Regions from separate parts of the Homo sapiens genome. Here all the other regions are linked to region 1. The links are contacts of gene promoters, found by promoter capture Hi-C in blood cells and fetal thymus (Javierre and others, 2016). All regions are on one chromosome and are shown on one strand. The core of a region is centred on a gene start or on the middle of the fragment in contact, and the rest is flanking DNA. Distances in the headings are between cores, read along the strand shown.

What was found. The method cuts DNA at HindIII sites, captures the fragments that hold promoters and counts their contacts. A CHiCAGO score of 5 or more calls a contact.
Region 2: a fragment that was not itself captured here is called in contact with the fragment with the promoter of ZNF227 in region 1 in 1 of 17 cell types (total CD4 T cells); the score reaches 7.6 in total CD4 T cells.
Region 3: a contact is called between the fragment with the promoter of AURKC here and the fragment with the promoter of ZNF227 in region 1, in 5 of 17 cell types (total CD4 T cells, naive CD8 T cells, non-activated CD4 T cells and 2 more). The highest score is 20.4, in total CD4 T cells.
Region 4: a fragment that was not itself captured here is called in contact with the fragment with the promoter of ZNF227 in region 1 in 1 of 17 cell types (total CD4 T cells); the score reaches 7.6 in total CD4 T cells.
Region 5: a contact is called between a fragment that was not itself captured here and the fragment with the promoter of ZNF227 in region 1, in 1 of 17 cell types (naive CD8 T cells). The highest score is 8.2, in naive CD8 T cells.
Region 6: a contact is called between a fragment that was not itself captured here and the fragment with the promoter of ZNF227 in region 1, in 1 of 17 cell types (total CD4 T cells). The highest score is 5.0, in total CD4 T cells.
Region 7: a contact is called between the fragment with the promoter of ZFP28 here and the fragment with the promoter of ZNF227 in region 1, in 2 of 17 cell types (naive CD4 T cells and total CD4 T cells). The highest score is 8.1, in naive CD4 T cells.

Annotation. Positions count from the first base shown.
Region 1 is chr19:44,211,005-44,214,054 of GRCh38, forward strand. ZNF227 (zinc finger protein 227) reads left to right here and starts at 1,528. Exons shown (of 6, transcript NM_182490.3): 1 at 1,528-1,581; 2 at 2,086-2,240. The HindIII fragment of the contact is 5,683 bases long and covers 604-3,050 here.
Region 2 is chr19:57,251,470-57,254,519 of GRCh38, forward strand. It overlaps ZNF805 (zinc finger protein 805), which reads left to right. Exons shown (of 4, transcript NM_001023563.4): 4 at 1,604-3,050. Among named protein-coding and RNA genes, the nearest start is that of ZNF805, 12 kb to the left of the region's middle. The HindIII fragment of the contact is 778 bases long and covers 1,018-1,795 here.
Region 3 is chr19:57,229,371-57,232,420 of GRCh38, forward strand. AURKC (aurora kinase C) reads left to right here and starts at 1,653. Exons shown (of 7, transcript NM_001015878.2): 1 at 1,653-1,936; 2 at 2,372-2,417; 3 at 2,663-2,854. The coding sequence starts at 1,879. The HindIII fragment of the contact is 17,293 bases long and covers 1-3,050 here.
Region 4 is chr19:57,185,565-57,188,614 of GRCh38, forward strand. No RefSeq gene overlaps it. Among named protein-coding and RNA genes, the nearest start is that of ZNF264, 4.4 kb to the right of the region's middle. The HindIII fragment of the contact is 5,081 bases long and covers 1-3,050 here.
Region 5 is chr19:56,600,271-56,603,320 of GRCh38, forward strand. ZNF71 (zinc finger protein 71) reads left to right here. Exons shown (of 4, transcript NM_001370215.1): 2 at 1,237-1,321. The coding sequence starts at 1,289. ZNF71-SMIM17 (ZNF71-SMIM17 readthrough (NMD candidate)) reads left to right here. Exons shown (of 5, transcript NR_163263.1): 2 at 1,237-1,321. Among named protein-coding and RNA genes, the nearest start is that of ZNF71-SMIM17, 6.5 kb to the left of the region's middle. The HindIII fragment of the contact is 197 bases long and covers 1,509-1,705 here.
Region 6 is chr19:56,557,405-56,560,454 of GRCh38, forward strand. All of the region lies in intron 1 of ZNF470-DT (ZNF470 divergent transcript), which reads right to left. Among named protein-coding and RNA genes, the nearest start is that of ZNF470, 8.5 kb to the right of the region's middle. The HindIII fragment of the contact is 8,891 bases long and covers 1-3,050 here.
Region 7 is chr19:56,537,450-56,540,499 of GRCh38, forward strand. It overlaps ZFP28 (ZFP28 zinc finger protein), which reads left to right and starts at 1,499. Exons shown (of 8, transcript NM_020828.2): 1 at 1,499-1,777; 2 at 2,176-2,267. The coding sequence starts at 1,570. It overlaps ZFP28-DT (ZFP28 divergent transcript), which reads right to left and starts at 1,285. Exons shown (of 3, transcript NR_183967.1): 1 at 976-1,285; 2 at 202-288. The HindIII fragment of the contact is 11,931 bases long and covers 1-3,050 here.

The DNA.
Region 1 (3,050 bases), core at 278-2,777:
CCAAGATGGCAAAACCCCGTCTCTACTAAAAATACAAAAATTAGCTGGGCGTGGTGGGGAGGGGGGTGCCTATAACCCCAGCGACTTGGGAGGCTGAGGCAGGAGACTTGCTTGAACCTTGTGTGAGGGCGGAGGTTGCAATGAGCCGAGGTCATGCCACTTCACTCCAGCCTGGGCAAAAGAGCCAAACTCTGTCTAACAACAACAACAACAACAACAACAACAAAACAGAACAAAAAAAAAAAGAAAAAAGTTGTGAAAATGTAGTGAGGGTCCCATAGTCTGAATAGTTTGAACTAGTTCCTGGCACATACTTGGTTCTTTATAAGAGATAGTTGTATATAACAGAATAAAGAATATATATTTAGTAAATGAGAACTGCAAACATGTACTGTAGTAGATATGTGGATATTTTTAGGTATTGCTCTCTTCTTTCAACCCTCAATTCTTGGAAACATCAATTCCATTATACATTTAAGCAAATAAAGATCAAGGTTTAAACACTGAAGTAATAAATTTGTTCATCTTTCAAATTCAGAAACTCCTTGAGGAATGATTACAGAGGCCCTAGTTGCTTTGTGGAGTTGATCTACCATATGCCAAAGCTTGTGTTTTCTATGTCTAGCTATCCTCAGTAAGCAAGTTGTTCTGAATTATATGACTGTGCTATTAAGAAAAGTGGAAATCCATAATATATTCTGCCTTCGTTGCATTTTTTGATTGCTCTTTCATTCTTTTAGTATCTAAAGAGTAGTTTTTCTATTAGTCGATCCTGTTAAATGTAAAAACTTAAAGGGTTTCCTCTGCCCTTTTTTTTTTTTTTTTTGGAAGTGGTGGGTATAATTCTATTAGTACAGGATCACGTGATCTGTTTCTTATAATAGTTTTTTTTTTCTTTTTTTTTTTTTTGAGACAGAGTCTCACTCTGTCGCCCAGGCTGGAGTGCAGTGGCACGATCTTGGCTCACTGCACCCTCCAGGGTTCAAGCGATTCTTATGCCTCAGCCTCCCAAGTAGCTGGGACTACAGGCGCGCGCCACCACGCCCGGCTAATTTTTATATTTTTAGTAGAGACGGGGCTTCATCATATTGGCCAAGCTGGTCTGGAACTCCTGACCTCGTGATCCGCCCGCCTCGGCCTCCCAAAGTGCTGGGAGTCTTTTTTTATTTTAGGGCTCCAATTCTTCACATATTTGCTGTTACTTTTTGTTAATAAGAAAAACCTAAATTCCACTGACATCAGAGAACTGCTTCAGCCTGGCTAAACAGCAATAAGCCGTGAAGAGGATTCTGGATGTTGTAGTCCGGGAGCTCCGAGAATTTTGTCACACTCTCCGTAACCCTCTCTCACTCGCTCGCTCCGTTTTTTTTTTTGTTTTTTTTTTTTTCAAGCGCGAAGAGGGCGGCACCTGGATGGTTTTTCCTTCTGGAAGTTCTGGGAAACGTATTCCAGAACTCTGTCCGGAAACAATTGGGCCGCAGGAGCGCGGGCCTTCTGGGAAGGGTAGTTCAGGAGCTCTGGGCAGGCAGAGCCACTTCCGCCCCGGAAAGCGAGGCCGCCACCATCTTTTGGGTCCGGGAGGTGAGTCAGCCCTGCACCCCCACGACCCCTCTTGAACCTTTTCAGCCTGTGCTTGGGAATAGGCGCTCCCCAGCCATCAGTCTTGGGATGGAGAGGTCGCGGCCGCGGCGGAGGCCGAGAGGCCGAGGGCGGGAAGTTTGCTCTCCTCCCGCACTTGGCAAGCAGCGCCGCTAGTTCTGTGGGTATAATAAACAGCGAGTTACCTATGATCCGCGCTCCTGTTTCCTCATCTTTAAAATAGCAATAAAGATAGTCGTTACTGTGTAGGGTTGTAATTAGAATTAAACAAGATAATACGGGTCAAACCTTAGAACAGTGGTGGCACCTGATACTGGGTTGGCTCCTGCTATTGATACAGTGATTCCCTCACAAGCGCCCTTTTTACTGGAAGCTCCAGTGAAGAGAGAAGAAAAGTCAGGGCTTTATGCCATGGCCTTTCTGTCGTATCCTTCAGGAGACCGAGCTCTTCCCGAACTTTTACAGATCTTTTTTTTTTTTAAGAAGGATTGAGTCATCGGGCTCCAATGCGTGGGGATGTTTACCGCCGTTTATCCGGGATAGAGACTCCATCGTGCTGACAGCATCCTTTTATTCACCGCCTCCGAATTTGCAAAGAGGAGGAAGGAGGGACTTCTTGGCTTCTCCCAGCATAGCCCCAGGTACCTGCTCTTGAACGCACTTTGTTGTTCCATTTTCTGTCCTTTCAGTTAATCAAGTTTCCGTCACTCAGTAAGTTACTACTGAAAAATGATGAAATATTTGTTGAATAAATGTGAGAGTGGGTAGGAAAACTACTTGGAAATGAGTATTACCAATAACATCTTACCACTTTGATTTTAAGGCATTCGTCTGTGGACCATAGCTATTGATGAAGTAGGTCTTGTTATTTTGTTATGAGGAAATTAGGCAGAGTTTATGTTATTAAATACTTTCCCGAAGTTATTCAACTGATAGTAAGAGGTGGATTTGGGATTGAACCCAAGCATTCCTTTTCAGACTGTGTGATCTTTTTTGTTTGTTTTTGTTTCTTTGGTTTTTGTTGTTGTTTATTTTCTATTCCTTTTTCTGAGTCTGTGGTCTTAATCTCAATGATACAGTCGTCTTCAGTTATCTTAAATAGTAATCCATATGGCTACCGGTGAGTCGTTGGAAATCAGCCTTGGGAATGTAGGTATGGATTTTACTGTGGAAGACCTCAAAAACTGCACTGATGAATTTTGAATTTTTTAGAAAAATCCTGCAACATCTCACTTACTTAATTTCATTCCATGTCAAAATATGTCATATTCTAGTTATAGAAGTAATGAATGCTCATTATAGAGATGCACTATCCAATCCAGTAGCTATAAGCCATGTGTGCCCTAGGAGCACTTGAAATGTGTCTAGTCCAAATTGAGATGTGCTGTAAGTGTTAAATACACACTGGATTTCAAAAACTTTGTACAAAAAATGTAAGATGGCTCATTGAT
Region 2 (3,050 bases), core at 157-2,656, about 13 Mb after region 1:
TTTGGCTTTCTCTTTTTGATTTTATTTTTGTACATTATAGATACCTATCTTTTATCAGTTACATTTGCTGCCGGTATATTCTTCTAGTTTTTAATTTTGTCCTTCCACTCTTTTTAAAGTATCTTTTGTTCAATGAGTTCCTTACATAGCGTAGTCTGATTTATGTTTTTTTTTTACGTGATTAATGATTTTGTACCTTGTGGAAAAAATGTTGCTTTACCCTAATGTCAAAAAGGTATTCTTGTTTATTTTATTGTAAGTTGTAAAACTTGCCATTTGGCATTCAAGTCTTTATCAATCTGAAGTTGATTTTGAGTATAGAATGTGATAGAATACAATATTTCCATTCCCCGTGTTGGTAGCCAATTTTTCTAGCTCTAATTCCTTAGTAGTCTCTCATCACTGAGGTGCTGTGCCTCTTTGCCATCTACCAAAGCCCCATCTATGTGCAAGGGGATTTCTGAGCTCTCTGTTCTTCTTTATTCCCAGTTTGCATTATGTCTGTGCCAGAGTGGTACCTCTGCCTTATGAGCTCTGTCCTGAGAGTGGCACTGCTCTTCACAGCTGTCACCTAGGTCAGAATCTTGGGAATCAGTCCCCCTGTGCCTCATCTTTCCCTAGATTCTCATCACCACCACCCTCTCATGCACTGTAGCTCATTTGCATATTCTTTCTCCTAAGGCTATAGTGTCTTTCTCACATTCTCTCGTGACAAGTGGGACTTACTTCACTGGGTACCTTCTATTGGAAAACTGCCTTGATCTTTTTCTACCCAGGATTAGCCAAACTCAAGATAAGGACACAGTCCTCCAGGACTTTGTCAAGTCTACCCAAATCCTCTTAATTCCAACTGCAAATTCAGGGATTTCCTGAAACCAACCTTAGGTTTCATAACTTGCTAAAAAGACTCACAACACTTTCTAAAACCTATTATACTCACAGTTTTGTTTATTACAGACAAAGCATACAAATTAGAAGAGGACACGGGATGTGGGGCTGAAGGGGTTCCAAACACAAAGCTTCCTCAGTAACTTGTTACCCACCCAGCATTGAGTGTAAAATATGTGCACAGAGCATTGCAAACCCAGGAAACTCACTGGAGCTCTGGTTTTTAGAGTTTGTTGAGCTTCATTACACAAGCACGGTTAATCGAGACATTGCCCACATTGCCATGTGAAGTTTCCAGCCTTCGTCCCTTTTCCAGAGTTCAGCTGATATCTTGTGGCTCAGAGACCTAACCTTCTACTCACTGGTTGGTCTTTCTGGTGCCACCAGACCTCAGCCAGAGTCATCTATTTAGGATAAACTATTTAGGTACCTATAATGAGTTACCTTTATATAAATATTTAGTCTGGAATTGAAGCGATATCTCCACTCTAGGCCCTGTCCCCTCACCTGGTCTCTCTGCCTGGTCTCCCTTTCAAGGAGTCAGGAATCCAAGGAAAATAAAAGAAACAAATTATAGATCTGGGGTTCAAGATGGCAAAATATAACAGACATAAAGGCACCATTTATAACTTCATTTTTTTTACTGAAGTGGTGAGTTTGTTTCTTCTCTTTTTACATTACTAACAAGCCCTTCTGTGTGTTGGATTTCTTTCAGGTGACAAAGGAAAACCCAAGAGCACAGAACCTACCACCTGTGAGCTAGCCTTGTCTGAAGGAATCTCTTTTTGGGGACAACTAACACAAGGAGCTTCAGGGGACTCCCAGTTGGGGCAACCCAAGGATCAGGATGGGTTTTCAGAAATGCAGGGAGAACGCTTGAGACCAGGGTTAGATTCCCAAAAGGAGAAGCTTCCTGGAAAAATGAGCCCCAAACATGATGGTTTAGGGACAGCTGATAGTGTGTGTTCAAGGATTATACAGGATCGAGTCTCCTTAGGAGATGATGTCCATGACTGTGACTCACATGGATCAGGTAAAAATCCAGTTATTCAGGAAGAGGAAAATATCTTTAAATGCAATGAATGTGAAAAAGTGTTTAACAAGAAACGCCTGCTTGCTCGGCATGAGAGGATTCACTCTGGAGTGAAGCCCTATGAATGCACAGAGTGTGGAAAAACCTTTAGCAAGAGTACATACCTCCTGCAGCACCACATGGTCCACACTGGGGAGAAGCCCTATAAGTGCATGGAGTGTGGGAAGGCTTTTAATCGGAAGTCACACCTTACCCAGCACCAGCGGATTCACAGTGGAGAGAAGCCTTATAAGTGCAGTGAATGTGGAAAGGCCTTCACCCACCGCTCCACTTTTGTCTTGCATAACAGGAGCCACACTGGAGAAAAACCCTTTGTGTGCAAAGAGTGTGGCAAAGCCTTTCGAGATAGGCCAGGTTTCATTCGACACTACATCATCCACAGTGGTGAGAATCCCTACGAGTGCTTCGAATGTGGCAAGGTCTTCAAACACAGATCATACCTCATGTGGCACCAGCAGACTCATACCGGGGAGAAGCCCTATGAGTGCAGTGAATGTGGGAAGGCCTTCTGTGAGAGCGCAGCGCTGATTCACCACTATGTCATCCACACTGGAGAGAAGCCCTTTGAGTGCCTCGAGTGTGGGAAGGCTTTCAACCACCGATCCTACCTCAAAAGGCACCAGCGGATTCACACTGGGGAGAAGCCATATGTGTGTAGTGAATGCGGAAAGGCCTTCACCCACTGCTCTACTTTCATCTTGCATAAAAGGGCCCACACTGGAGAAAAACCTTTCGAGTGCAAAGAGTGTGGGAAAGCCTTTAGCAATAGGGCAGACCTCATTCGCCACTTCAGCATCCACACTGGAGAGAAGCCCTATGAGTGCATGGAGTGTGGAAAGGCCTTCAACCGCAGGTCAGGCCTCACAAGGCACCAGCGGATTCATAGTGGAGAGAAGCCCTATGAATGCATCGAGTGTGGGAAAACATTTTGCTGGAGCACAAACCTCATTCGACACTCTATCATCCACACTGGAGAGAAGCCGTATGAGTGCAGTGAATGTGGAAAGGCCTTCAGTCGCAGCTCGTCCCTCACTCAGCATCAAAGGATGCATACTGGGAGAAATCCTAT
Region 3 (3,050 bases), core at 403-2,902, about 13 Mb after region 1:
TCATTAAATTAACAATATACACATATATAAAACAGCACTTTCACATGGTTATGAGTGACCTAAGGAAAAACAGAACAGGATGACGTTGTAGTGGGGGCTGTTTTAAATTGACAGTTTGGAGCTGGGCGCAGTGGCTCACACCTGTGATCCCAGTATTTTGGGAAGCCGAGGCGAGTGGATCACCTGAGGTCAGGAGTTCGAGACCAGCCTGGCCAACATGGTGAAACCCTGTCTCTACTAAAAATACAAAAATTAGCCGGGCATGGTGGCAGGTGCCTGTAATCCCAGCTACTCAGGAGGCTGAGGCAGGAGAAATGTTTGAACCTAGGAGGCGGAGGTTGCATGAGCTGAGTTCGAGCCACTGCACTCCAGCCTGGGTGACAGAGCAAGACTCCGTCTCAATAAACAAACAAACAGACAGGTTTGGGAAAGCCTCTGAGAAAGGAATGGTTGGCCTGAGCTAAGCGCCATTACCCTGATCCACCTATTGTAACCACCTAATGGGTTCATTATTTTCCCTGCTCCCCAGATAGAGTCGACTTATCAAGACAGGATAATTGCAATAAAGGGTTTAATTCACATCAATCGAGCTAAATGAGAGACCAGAGTTTTATTACTCAAATAGGTCTCCCCAAATATTTTGAGACGAGCTTTTTTGTTTTTGGGTTTTTTTGTTTTTGTTTTTGTTTTTTTTGAGACAGAGTCTCGTTCTCCTTCTGTCGCCCAGGCTGGAGTGCAGTGGCATGATCTTGGCTCACTGCAACCTCCGCCTCCAGGGTTCAAGCGATTCTCTTGCCTCAGCCTTTTGAGTAGGTGGGATTACAGGCATGCGCCACCACACCCGGCTAATTTTTGTAGTAGAAACGGGGTTTCGCCCTGTTGGCCAGGCTGGTCTCGAACTGCCTACCTCAGGTGATCCGCCCGCCTCGGCCTCCCAAAGTGCTGGGATTACAGGCATGAGCCATCACGCCAGGCCTTCAATTATATTTCTGCAAGATATGTTCCCTGTCTAAAAGAATTCAATTTTTAATGTTTTTGAAACTTATGTGTTTGCTAAACAAATACGTGGGGGCTGATTTTACGATCTGAGGCCAAATCCACAAACTGATTACAGGGTCCAACAAATATTTGGCGAGTGGGAGGAGAGGGGTAAGTGAGCTGGACTGGTGGCGTCCTGGCTGTGAGCAGGCACAGCCGCAGGCTTCAGGGAGCCCCATCGCGGTGACCCTGGAGAGTGGCCTGAATCGGACGTGACCTTGAAGCAAGGTGGTTTTGGGGTCGCCGGCTGCACAAGGCGCGAAGTGGTTTAGGGTCACGGGCTGCACGAGGCTCCAGCACGTCAGGAGTGGGCGTCTGTTCATTCCCACGTGCATCGCGGCTCTCTCCTAGTTGACGCATGCACACCCCGTGGGTGTATGCGTTGTTCATTCCCACAACGGCCATCACCACCTCTCCGCACCCTCTGTCTCCTTCCTTCTCGGGCCTCACCCCTGGCCCTCGCTTTCAGTGCCCAGCCCGGACCGCAGCACTCCAGTTCCGCCCCAACCCGGGAACCCTGGACTGAGGCTCCCGTTTCTGTCCTTTCTATTGGGCGCACTTCCGATGGCGTCAGGAATTTCAGCCAATAGGAGCCAGCCAGGAAGTACCTCTCTGAGCGGTTGGTGCCGGGTATAAAAGAAGGCCGCGCAGCCACGGCTGCTCACGACGCCGCGGATCCCGAAGCCTGTGTAGCAGTGAGACATCAGTGAGGCTGCAGGACGAGCAGGATTGGAAGCGCCCCGGCCAGAAAGTGACCCCCCACCCCTTTCAGGACCCTGTGAACGGGAACAGCCATCCAGAGGGTTCAGGAAGGCGTCCGCGCCCTCACCTCTTCTCCCCATGAGCTCCCCCAGAGCTGTGGTGCAGCTGGGCAAAGCTCAACCTGCAGGCGAAGAGTGTGAGAGCCAGCGCCAGAGAAAGGACGCAGGGAAGGCTGGGGACTGGGCCAGGGGTCGGGTGCACAGAAGACACATGTGTTGACATCTCCCCTCCCTCTCCTCCTCCCCAACGCTCTTCTTTTCTCCCCACTCCCTCCCTTCCCTCCAATTCTTTCTTTCACCTCTCCCTCCCCTACTCTCTCCTCCCCTTCCTTTCTCTCTGCCTCTTCTTCACCTCCTCCTCCCCTCCCTACCTTACCTTACTCTTTCTTCTTCCCCTTACCTCTCCCTCCCCCTCTCCCTGCCTTCCCCTTCCCTCTCTTTCTCTCCTCCCCTTCTTCCCCTCACCTCTCGCTCCCTATTCCCTTCTCTACTGTTCTCCTCTCCTCTCTTTCTCTCCCCTTCTCCTTCCCTCCCCTCTCCCTTCCTATCTCCCTCCTCCTCCTCTCTTTCAGTGGCTACAGCAAACCAAACAGCCCAGCAGCCCAGCAGCCCAGCCATGTGAGTCCCTTGGGATTGGTATCTGGAAAAGGAAGGAAGGTGGGACGTGGGGATGAAGAACAGACTGGGTGTGTGGGGTGCTGGCTCCTGGGAACGAGAACTACTGATAGGGCTGGGTCTGTGTGAGAAGGGAAAGCGGCAGAGGAAGGATACAATGAAAGAGGAAGGGGAGCATTGGCATCCCTGACTTTCCCTCCGCCTACCCTACCTCCCAAGCTGAGGCTTTTTTCTTCCTCTCCTGTCAGGCGGCGCCTCACAGTCGATGACTTTGAAATCGGGCGTCCCCTGGGCAAGGGGAAATTTGGGAATGTGTACCTGGCTCGGCTCAAGGAAAGCCATTTCATTGTGGCCCTGAAGGTTCTCTTCAAGTCGCAGATAGAGAAGGAAGGACTGGAGCACCAGCTGCGCCGGGAAATTGAGATCCAGGCTCATCTACAGTAAGGACAGTCTCTGCTTCCTCTTTCATCTTTGACGTCTGAGCCCAGCATTTTCCCCAAATACTAACCCCAAGTAAACCCTGCACTTGTACCTTGAAGACTTCTCTGCAGTTCATTCCATTTACACTACCTCCTACCCTGGGTCAGACACTCGAATCCTGGTTCCTGTTCTCCGTTCTCCCCTCACTTGCTCCCA
Region 4 (3,050 bases), core at 208-2,707, about 13 Mb after region 1:
AAAAGGAGAGTAAGGTGGATCAGGGTGTCAGAGTTTGGGGAGTTGTTTGCAATTTTCATTAGAATGATCAGGAAACAGCTTATTTAGAATGTGACATAGATCAAAGTCTATAGGGAGATGAGGGGCTGAGCCATGTGGAGATTGGGGTAGGAAGTGGATTTCCTGCCACAGGCTTTCAAGCAAGCATATAATATCCAGGGCTGGGTGCTGTGGCTCACGCCTGTAATCCCAGCACTTTGGGAAGCCAACGTGAGAAGATTGCTTGAGGCCAGGAATTCAAGACCAGCTTGGGCAACATATTAAGACCCCCATCTCTATTTTTTTTAATCTTTTTTTTTTTTCTTTTGAAACGGAGTCTCGCTCTGTCGCCAGGCTGGAGTGCAGTGGCCCGATCCCAGCTTACTTCAATCTCTGCCTCCTGGGTTCAAGCGATTCTCCTGCCTCAGCCTCCTGACTAGCTGGGATTACAGGTGTGTGCCACCACGCCTGGCTAATTTTGTATTTTTAGTAGAGACTTCCCCATGTTTGCCAGGATGGTCTCGAACTTCTCACCTCGAGTGATCCACCCACCTCAGCCTCCCAAAGTACTGGGATTACAGGTGTGAGCCACCACACCTGGCCAAAATAAGCCTTTTTTACTGTATTTATTTGAAGATTAAAGATGGTTTAAGGTGACAAGGGGTAGAGTATGATTGCCAACTATATGTGTAAACTTGTTTAGGCTGTACTACCCAGAAATTGTATTAAACACTGACCAGGGTATTGTTATGAAGGTATTTCATAGAAACGGTTAACATCTATAATCAGTTATTTTGATAATGTAGGTGGTTCTTATCTAATCAGTTGAAAGGCCTTAAGAGAAAAACAGGGTTCCCTGGGGAAGAAATTCTGCCTCAAGACTGCACCTTCAGCTCCTATCCACGTTTCAATTCTGCTGGCCTGAACTCTAGCCTACAGATTTGGGACTGGCCTGTCCCTGCAATCACATAGCCCATTTCTTCTTCTATCTTTTTTTAAAATTTTTATTGTAGGCAAGGTGGGTGGCTCACACCTGTAATCCCAGCACTTTGGGAGGCCAAGGTGGGCGGATTATGAGGTCAGGAGTTCAAGACCAGCCTGGCCAACACAGTGAAACCCCATCTCTACTAAAAGATATAAAAAATTAGCCAGGCACAGTGGCGGGCACCTGTAATCCTACCTACTCAGGAGGCTGAGGCAGGAGAATTGCTTGAACCCAGGAGATGGAGGTTGCAGTGAGCCAAGATTGCAACACTACACACCAGCCCGGGTGACAGTGCCGAGACTCTGTCTCAAAAAAAAAAATTATTGTGGAGGAATGGTCTCACTATGCTGCACAGGCTAGTCTCTTAACTCCCGGCCTCAAGAGCCGGGTCTGTCCTGTAGACCCTGGCTGAGCGATGGATGAAAGGAGTACTCAGACACAGGTATGTAGTGTAAGAGCAGCTAGGGGACTGCTGAAGAGTGAGCAGTCTTGATAAGCTGGGACTGCTTGCTTTTATTCAGTACAGACATAATGCCAAAAGCCTGGAGCCAACACAGTCTGTGGGTAATTAACATTATTGTTCCCCCTTTTGGGGGCAGCCTCACTCGTGAATGATCAAATGTTGGTTCCTAGTTAACATAAGTAAACAAGCCTGTTTATGTTAAATTCCCCTACACTTCCTTGTACCTACTCCTTGCCCTCTGCCTTAGGGTAAGAGAACAGCTGCTTTCAGCTTATTCTCCCGTGAAGCTATGCAGAGACTTCTGACCTTTCAGAAGGTTTGCGTCCTTTTCTTATAGCTTCTCCCACCACTCTGACCGATCTCCTACACTCAAGCAATCCTCCTTCCTCAGCCTCCCAAAGTGCTGGGATTACAGGCATGAGCCACCGCACACCACCCCCATTTCTTGCAGTAAAATATGTGTGTGTGTGTGCGCGTGTGCGCGCGTGTGTATTCCATTTCTCCCTAATACCATTTCTCAGCTGCATGAATCCTTAACTCATGAAAGATACTTTTTATCCTCTTGACTCTACAGTTAATGGAAAATAAAAATCATCAATAGTGACTTCTAAGATTGCTTAATATACCTTTCTGGGAGGACAGTTAGAACTCCTAATGTGAGCTTGTCAGTTTCTTGTGAAAACCAACCCAGTTGTCCCATAGAACTGATGTTTGTGGTTTCTTTTGACTGAACCTAGAAATTGACCCTCCCACTCTTAAAACTTGAGAAAAGTACATTTGTCATAATCGTTTGTCACAGAAATAACCAAATTTCCTTGTCCATTGTTTTTTAACTATGGTTGTCCTAAGACTTTTGTCATCCACAATTATTGTTTGACTTTGAGTCTTCTCCAAAGGTGGCTTACAGTCAGCTACAGTTCAGGGCTTCTTTGAGAGAGTTCATAAAAAGAACACTTGAATTCAAGTTTCTGGTAACTTTGGAGATTGTCCTATCAGCCTAGAGAGAAAACTTCCAGGACTCTAATTAGAAGGCTGATATATTCATAAAATACATAATTATGTATACATATGTTTATGCAATATGAAGCAGAGCAGGAGTTTCATGGACTGTACTAATTTATTTCATGATAAATAAAAATATTTTATTATATAGTATATTAAGCCATCTTAGAAGTCACTGTTGATGATTTTTTTTTCTCCATTAACTGTGGAGCCAAGAGGGTAAAAAGTATCTTTCATGAGTTAAGGATTCATGCAGTTGAGAAATGGAATTAGGGAGAAATGGAACACACACACACAAACACAGAGATTTATTTCAAGTACTGAATTTATTTTATTATTTTTTGTGTGTGTTTGAAACATTGCTGATTCTTTTTGTTTTGTTTTTGAGTCAGGAGAACTTTTTTTGTAAATCTACTTTCTGTCTCTATGAAACTTTTTTCTTTCCAGCTATTTATAGCCTTTAACAATTGAATATACATTTGTAAACAAAATTTGAGGGCTATTTCTCTCTCTGCCTGATTTCTCCAGAATTCAGAAACTATTTGTGAATATTCTTAATTCACGGCAATGTGGTTGTTTGCA
Region 5 (3,050 bases), core at 357-2,856, about 12 Mb after region 1:
CACTGCAAGCTCCGCTTCCCGGGTTCACGCCATTCTCCTGCCTCAGCCTCCCGAGTAGCTGGGACTACAGGCGCCCGCCACCGCGCCCGGCTAATTTTTTGTATTTTTAGTAGAGACGGGGTTTCACCTTGTTAGCCAGGATGGTCTCGATCTCCTGACCTCATGATCCACCCGCCTCGGCCTCCCAAAGTGCTGGGATTACAGGCGTGAGCCACCGCGCCCGGCCCTCTGTATTTTTTTAATACCAATTAGCCATCCCCACATTCCCCCCACCCTTCCACTACCCTTCCCAGCCTCAGGTTTCTTCATCATTCTAGTCTCTATCTCCATGAGTTTGTTTTAATTTTTAGCTCACACAAGTGAGAACTTGCAAAGTTTGTCTTTCTATGCCTGGCTTATTTCACTTAACATAATGACCTCCAGTTTTATCCATGTTGTTGCAAATCACAGGATCTTATTCTCCTGCTTTTCTTTTGTTTCAAGGGGCGAGTGATGGGTTGCAGGGATGTTAAGATATCTCTCCACTTGAGACTTTATCCTGAGCTTGTCAGGAGAACTGGAGGAGAATTGAATCAAGATGCATTTCTCTAGGCGAATCTGGCTCTGAGAGCCCCTGGGTGGAAGTTCCTTACACTCATATCTGCTAGTTGAACCTCATGGTAACCCCATGAAGTCTGGGGGAAGTGCCCAAAGAGGCCACAGGTGGTTCTGGGGCATCTCAGGGGGCCTCAGTCCAGCACTCACACTCAAGGAGGGATCCGGGCAGGGCCATTGGGAGAAGGCAGGGTGTCCGGTGGCCCTCAGCAGCCTGCGGGAATGTGTGTGAGTGTATGTGTGTTAACCATATCTATAGGAGTGTACATGGGAGTGCATCTGTGAGGCATTGTAGCCTGGAGGCTAAGCTGTGGACCCAGACATACTCTGCCTGACTCCAGTCCCAGCTCTGTAATCTTGAGCAAGTGGTTTAATCTCCTCGGGCCTCAGCCTCCTCATCTGTGAAATGGGTAGGTAGAAGTAGTACCTACCTTCCAGGATGGTTGGAAGATCAAGTGATATACATTCAAGTTCCCTACATGCAGTAAGCCCTCTAAATACTCACTGTTGATGTATGTGTATGTGTGTCTATCTGTCTGTCTCTGCTTGTCTCTCAGTGGGTGTGTGTCTGTCCTGTCTACATTTGTGAGGCCAGCCTAGGCCTGGTCTCTCAGCATGCCTCCCTCTTTCTTCTCCCTACAGCACTGTTGGTCACCGCAGGCCTGTCTTCCTATTCACCGTGGGCAGCAGAGGGATGGCTGCTCAGCTGCTGACTGATGAGGCACTGGTGAGTCATGTTGCCCTGTCACTCTCCTTTCCAAAGGCTGGATCCTGCCTTGGGTGAGCCTCTGCTGCTCGAACCCTCTCCAAGGCCCCCAGTCCCATCTTCTGGGGCTGTGTCTGCCCTGATGAAGAGGGCTGTGCTTATAGATGATGCTGACCCTGGCTGTGGGGTCAGTTGTAGGGGACAGGGAAGCTTTGGAATGGCCAAACTAGCTCTCTGGACTCTTAGGAGACACAGGTGGGCACCTGTGGGAAGTGGTGGTTTAGACATGTGACATTGAGTGAAAACTTGCGCAGGACCATGCTGGATGTGTGACCTTTAAAATGGGCAAACACACTAAATGCTTCTTGTGAATGTGAATGCCCACATGTGTGATGAAAGTACAAAAGCTTATGGGAATGAGGCCCACAAATTCACCCATGATTTTACCCCAAAAGATAATCACTCTGGAATGTTTGAGTCTGGCTAAGCAATTTTAATGTTAAAGATTGCTTTTTCATCAGAGATTTCATCCTGAGCATTTCTCCACATCATTAAAAACTCCTTTGTAACGTCCATCTTAATGACCCCATAAAAGTGTTGTTCAGTGGCCATACCCTGGTTTACTTAATGGTTCCTCTGTTGTTGGACCTTTATTGGTTTCCAAGTATTCTTTTTTTGGTTATAAACAGTGTCATGAGGGACACTGGGCACAAATCTTTCTTTGTGTCTTATATGATTTCTTTAGGAGTGATTCCTTGAAGAGGAAGATTGGGTTGGGTATTTTTGAGGTATTTTGATATTATTTCCACATCAGTTACGGCGGTATGTATTCCCACCAGCATGTCTGAGCGGGTCTCTGATGATTTATATGGCTGTTGTCAGGCATTTATTCTGCATGTTGGATATATTTAGATTGGTGCAATATTGCACCATGATAATAAATGATAAATGGATATAAATGACAAATGCTATAAACCATGATGAGCCTGATAGGGGACAAATGGTGCCACGTGATTTATTTCTGAGTAGCATTGTTTGTATTATTAGTGAAGTTCAAGTCTTAGAAAATGTTTACTAGCCATTTCTGTGGGCAGGGAAATGATCCATCTTGTGCTTTAGCAGTCTACAGGAATCTGAGTATGCTTTAAAGACTTTACAGAAGCAAATGTGTGTGTGTAAATATTTGTGGCAAATATTCTTCCCAGATTTGCTTTTTGTTTCTTTATTTTACTTTATTTTTTCTGTATAAAAGCATTTCATATTTTTAAAATCAAATCTGTTGGTTTCTCCCACTGTGGTGTCTTTCTTCATCTTTAAGCTGTGAAAGGGTTTCTCCATCCACAGGTCACATAGCAGCTATATTTTCTTCCTTTTCACCATTTGTCATTTGAATGTTAACAATGAACTTTTGAATCTACCTGTAATTGATTTTGCTATATAAATGTGTCAGTAGACTTATTTGGGAGCTTTGGTTTATTCTGTCTTCATTTGTTTGGTACCTTTGTTGAGGTACACATCACGTATCACAAAGTGTACAATTCACTGATTTTGGGTACATTCATAGAGTCGCGTTAACCATCACCACAGTCCATTTCAGAATATTTTCATCATCCTGAAAAAGAGCCGAGTACCCATTGGCACTCATTTCCATTTTCCCCCATCAGTCCACGGCCCCTGGCAACCAGTAATCAGCTTTCTGTCTCTATGAATTTGACTGTTCTGGACATTTCAAATAAATGGAATCATACAT
Region 6 (3,050 bases), core at 364-2,863, about 12 Mb after region 1:
TTTTGAAATAGATTTCTTTGCATATGAGATTTTAGTATATAATGGCACTATTATTTCAATATCGGGAAAATTATGTTTTGACAATTGGTTATCCACCCTCTCCAAGAAAAAAGTTAGAAGCACATTTACACCTTACAGAGAAATATGACTATCATATTTGACATATCTAATCATAAAATAACATGTTAGAGGCAAATGTAGAAAAAAGGAACGTATTATCAAGTAGGACATGGAGTCCTAGAAGCCATAAAGAAATCGAGAACAAGTTGGGCTATGCAACGATCTAAAACTTCAGCATGGTGAAAGGCACCAAAAACTTGTAAAAGACAGTTGAAGGGAAATGTATACAACTTATAGAAAATAACAGAATGCTGTTACATATACAGAGCAGTGGGGAACAACTTGCCATGCACACTGATAGGCGAATCACCCTGAAGAATCCAAATGGATAAAGAAAATTCGTGAAATTCTTAACCTCATTAATCAGAAGAATATGAATGAAACCACATTTTCCTGGCTCTTGGTAGATTACAATATAAAATTTGGATAATATCCAGTAATGGTATTAGTGTGGGAAAACAGGTACTTGATCACTATTAGCAGTGTAACTTCGTCCCCTATCTCCTCGGATGGCATGACCTATCAACATTATAAACGTGAATTTTTTTCAAACAGTAATTCCAGATCTAGGAATTTTATCCCATTGGAATAAATAGGTAGATATAAATATTGTTTTCTTGTAGAATTGTTTCAATTATGACAAATAAGAATTCAGCGCCCTGCCAAGTGGATTGACTAAATTGTAGTTATTCAGTACTGTGTTGTGCGATTAGTAGAAAGCAGTTAAGCTCTACATACACTTCTATGGAGTGGCGTCTACAACATATTTAATGAAATATGTGGTTTACAGAACCTTACAGGTAAAATGACCTAGTCATAGAGTCAAAATTAATACTGAATATATATGTGTGTATGTACATACAAACACATGCACAGCCTCAGTATCTATGTTGAAATCTGGTTTTGTCTTTAACACACAGACTTTTCCTAGCATTTTGCGGGCACTTTCCCTTTCTTCATTCTGTATTGTTCTGATGAACTGTCAGTGACACATGCTCCAAGTAAGACAACCAGATTCATTCTCTGTATTTTGATTAGAGACACAGGGACAGGAACAGGGCCAATATTCAGCTTTATGAACCAGTATGGCCAGAATGGATGTTTTGTTTTAGTCAATATTCATTTTGATTGGTGGGACCTTTATTATACCTGCTGTGAAGTATGTGGGATATGACTCCTAGGCTGGAATTCGTTTGAATTAAGTCATCCTTTGGCAGCAACCTAAGGATTCCTCCACCTGTCACTGAGATCCATTGAGATGATTCCTGCTTTCTCACATCTTGGTTTTGAGTTAAATTCTTTGAGTCTGTGAACTACCTGGTATTCTAATATTTCTCATTTTAAGTCAGAGTCAAATACTTTGGTTCTCAAGCAAAGAGAGCTAGCCAATGCAGAAATTTATACTACAGAATGATTACTAGACTGTAGAGAAGCAGAGTATTCAAGATGGATGTCCAGTGAGACAGATCAAAGCACAGATGAATTCCTAATCCTATTTTGTGCTGTGAAAGGATATTCATGATATAGCAGGATCCTAAGCCCATTGTGCACTAGGGTCTGGATAGCTCCTACCAAAAACAAAGGTATTGAGGAATACTACTTCCAAAAGTATATATGATACCTGTTTATAATGAAATTGGGTAATTAAAATTTCAAGGCTACTTGAAATTCTGGCCTTAAGGAATTGAATCAGTACCTGTATGTCTGTGTTGGGAAGAATCTCATACTCCTTTTAAGCATGGGGCTGTATTTGCTAAAAAAGGCAGCAGTAGATGCAGTTATTTGCTCAACAATGATGCTTACTGAATGAAGGGGTGGCCTGCCCCTCCACACCTGTGGGCGTTTTTCCTTGGGTGGGACGAGAGACTGAGAAAAGAAAGAGACACAGAGACAAAGTATAGAGAAAGAAAAGTGGGCCCAGGGGACCAGCACTCAGCATACGGAGGACCCACGCCTGCACCGGTCTCTGAGTTCCCTCAGTATTTATTGATCATTATCTCTACCATCTCAGAGAGGGGGATGTGGCAGGACAATAGGGTAATAGTGGGGAGAGGGTCAGCAGGAAAACGTGAACAAATGTCTCTGTGTCATAAACAAGGTTAGAAAATGTGCTGTGCTTTGATATGCACATACACAAACATATCTGGTGCATTAAACAGCAGTATTGCCGCCAGCATGTCTCACCCCCAGCCTTAAGGCGGTTTTCTCCTATCTCAGTAGATGGAACACACAATCGGGTTTTACACCAAGACATTCCATTCCCCAGGGACGAGCAGGAGACAGATGCCTTCCTCTTAACTACAAAGAGGCCTTCCTCTTTTAATAATCCTCCTCAGCACAGACCCTTTACCGGTGTCGGGCTCAGGGACGGTCAGGTCTTTCCCTTCCCACAAGGCCATATTTCAGACTATCACATGGGGAGAAACCTTGGACAATATCTGGCTTTCCTAGGCAGAGGTCCCTGCAGCCTTCTGCAGTGTTTTGTGTCCCTGGGTACTTGAGATTAGGGAGTGGTGATGACTTTTAACAAGCATGCTGCCTTCAAGCACTTGTTTAACAAAGCACATCCTGCATAGCCCTAAATCCATTAAACCTTGAGTCGACACAGCACGTGTTTCTGCCAGCACAGGGTTGGGGGTAGGGTTACAGATTAACAGCATCTCAAGGCAGAATTTTTCTTAGTACAGAACAAAATGGAGTCTCTTATGTCTACTTCTTTCTACATAGACACAGTAACAGTCTGACCTCTCTTTTCCCCACACTGAATTCACAACCGTGTCACTTCTGTTAAGCAATTAGGGAAATACTGGAATTTGGATTATTGGAATGAGACTAACAAGAAGGATTCAAGGATCTTACAAAACTTTGACTCTCCCTTGACTCTCCCTCTCAACCCTTAAGCAACCTCCCCACTGATTCTCCTCTCCATG
Region 7 (3,050 bases), core at 249-2,748, about 12 Mb after region 1:
ACAAGGAGACTGGGGAGGTGAGTATTATAAGCTGGGCAGATGGCCACTTGAAGAGCATCAATGTTCTGCTGTGGAAGGAGTGCAAAATAGACACCAGAGAGACCATTAGCAGTGTCTGCCACAGCTATTACATGGCTAGGTCCACCTGACTGAAACTAAGCCTTTTCTATGAGACTGAAGTGCTTTGAGAGAAATGCTGACCTTGTCCTTTCTGCAGCTTGCGGCTTTCAGTCACCCTTGGATTCAGAGATAGAAGTCATCTTAATTCCATCACTGAGGCCAGGAGACCTGAAAGAAATCAATTCAAGAGTAAGGAGACCAGGCGTGCAGTGTGACTGGGCGTGCAGAGGTCAGTGCATCTGTGATGACTGGTGTAACAGCATCACTGCCTGTGAGCCAGCAAGGCCCTTGGCTCCCAGGATGAAGCTCTCCAGTTCTGATAAGGCCCCTGGGGGAGAGACCGGTCCTAAACATGTTCAAGAATAAATCCATCAGCTAACTTCAGACCGTGATTCACACAGGAAGGGAACTTTAAGAGGTCGCCAGGGCTGGTATTTTTGAGACGTTAGGCAGCCCTCTCTGAGGCGATGACAAGTGAATGGCATAAAGGAGCCAGCCCAGACGAAAATTTGGGGTTAGACTATTTCGACCCAGGACGTGCAAATACATAGGTTACAAAATGGAAAATGGTATTTTGGAGGATGGGAGGCCCGTGTAGCCAGAGATAATGGGAGAAGGTGAGGGGGCACCCAAAACAATCCCACAAGCTCTCTACATCCCCCTTCCTAGCCCACACACATCACCCATCAGAGTGATCCTCCGGACTCCGGAGGCCCCCAAGATTGCCTTTCCCTTCCCGGTCGGCAGTGACGCTCCCGCAAGGAGCTGACGCCCAGGCCCTTAGCACCTGTCACAGCCAAGCACCCTTTTACTCCGGCCCTGCGGTCCCACCCCTCGCCGCAAGCCCCGCCTCACCCGGTCTGCCGCTGCGCCTGCGCGACTCCCAGAAGCCTTTGGGGGGTGGGTGTGTAGTCAGAGCGGCCTCTGCTTCCGGCCACACCCAGGCCCAGCGTTGGCCACCACTTATGCGGCGGCTGCGGTCCAGGGACAAGTGAGAGCGACCCGCAGAGGGCAGGACGGACGGGCGTTGCATAGGCCCGGGGCCAAACCGTATCTTGCAACCTGAGCTCCGAGGGCCGCCGCATCCGTCCCTGCTTGGGACTACGCTTCCCAGCGGGCATTGCGCCGAGGCCACGCCCGGTTCCGGCGGCGCTGCCTGCGCACTGGAAGTGGGAAGCGCCGGGCTTCTCTAGGCTGAGGGGCGGGGCGGGGCGGGGCGGGGCGGGGCGGGGCGGGGCGGGGCGGGGCGGGGCGGGGCGGGGCAGCGGGGAGGGGTGGGGAGGGGCGGGGCGCGGCCGGGGGCGGGGCGGCTCCGCGGCGCGGCCCAGTGGATGCCGGGCCATGGGGGAGCGCGCGCGGGGCTGTTCGCTGGGCGTGGCGGGCGGGTGTGGCCAGGGGTGTGGGTCTGTGAGGGACCGGTCGGAAGGGCGTCGCGCGGCCTCGGGTGACATGCGGGGGGCGGCGAGCGCGAGTGTCCGCGAGCCGACGCCGCTCCCGGGTAGAGGCGCCCCCCGCACAAAGCCCCGGGCGGGCCGAGGCCCGACTGTAGGGACTCCAGCCACCTTGGCCCTCCCTGCCCGGGGAAGGCCGCGCTCAAGGAATGGCCTCGCATCCAAAGGCCAGCGAGGAGCGGCCCCTACGGGGCCTGGGCACAGAGGTGAGAGTGACAGGTGTTTGGGGCCGAGCGGACAGGGACGAATTCATCTCGGGATGAGATCTGGGAGGGGGTTGGGCTCTCGGGGACCAGTTGCTGGAGAACTGTGCCCCTGGTCTTTGAAGCTGGTGGAGTGGGAGAATCTGAAGATTTGGAAGCTCAACTGATTCAGAGCAGCAAGCCGCGGTAAAAGGGTGTTGACTTTCCCAGGGTGACTCTAACTAGACGCTTTTCCTGTTTTCGTGCTCCCAGGGAGGAAAAAAACCTATCTCCACGTTGTGGCAGTCCCTAGGCAGGGTAATGATCTGATCCCACCTTTTCATGCAGGAAGGGACGTTTCTAGGCTGGTGATTTGGGACTGTGGTGTAGACCTGGTCTCTAGCTACTCCTTTCTCTTTCAGCTCTGCCTTCCAGGGACACTGCTCTTCCCCAGGAGAGAAACAAGAAGCTGGAGGCTGTGGGGACAGGAATTGAACCTAAAGCCATGTCCCAGGTGAGTTGGCATTTCATCTCTTGTCTCTGAAATGCAGTCTTGCTTTTCGGGACTTAATGTTGCTTATTTTCTTGAAAGTTTTCAGTTTAAGAGACCTGTTTGGGCGCGGGTTTCTATTTCTTCACGTTCTAGTGAAGTGATGGGCTACGGGGAAAAGTTTAAACTGCCCGGGGCCTCGATGCCTGCTTCTTCTTCATCCCAATCAGCCTTCATTCTTGATTGATGAAATGATTCAGCCTCTCCCTTGTACCGCTTTTCTCAGAGGGACTCTGATGGAGGAATTGTGCCCCTTGAGGAACACGGCAGACTCTTCTGCTATACATGGTTTGTTTGGTGACCACTTTGTGCCAGCCACTGAGCAAACCAATAGCTAAGCCCTAGTCCCTGCTCTGGAGCTCACAGCCTGTTGACCCAATGTCAAGGAAACAAGCAAGATTCTAGAATGTGATCATCCTTGGGCCAAGTATTATGAGCGAGGACTACAAGGCGCTCCTGGCTTCCAGCCTCCTGTAGCGGAAGGGTAGGCCTATTTACCAAGGAGGTGATTTTTGAGCCTTGCCTTGAAGGGAGAGAAGATGTTTGGGAGGCACAGTAAAGAAAGACAACATTTTAGGGAGAGGAGGCGCAATATGAAAGGCTTTTCCACTTGATTTTGTGGCTTTAAAACATGCCAGTAAATAGTTGTGTTTGTTTCGGTTGGCTTCTCCTATAAATATCATAGCTAGCTCATTAATAGATGAACCATTTCACTTCCACTGAGGCCTCAAAAAATATATGTACAGA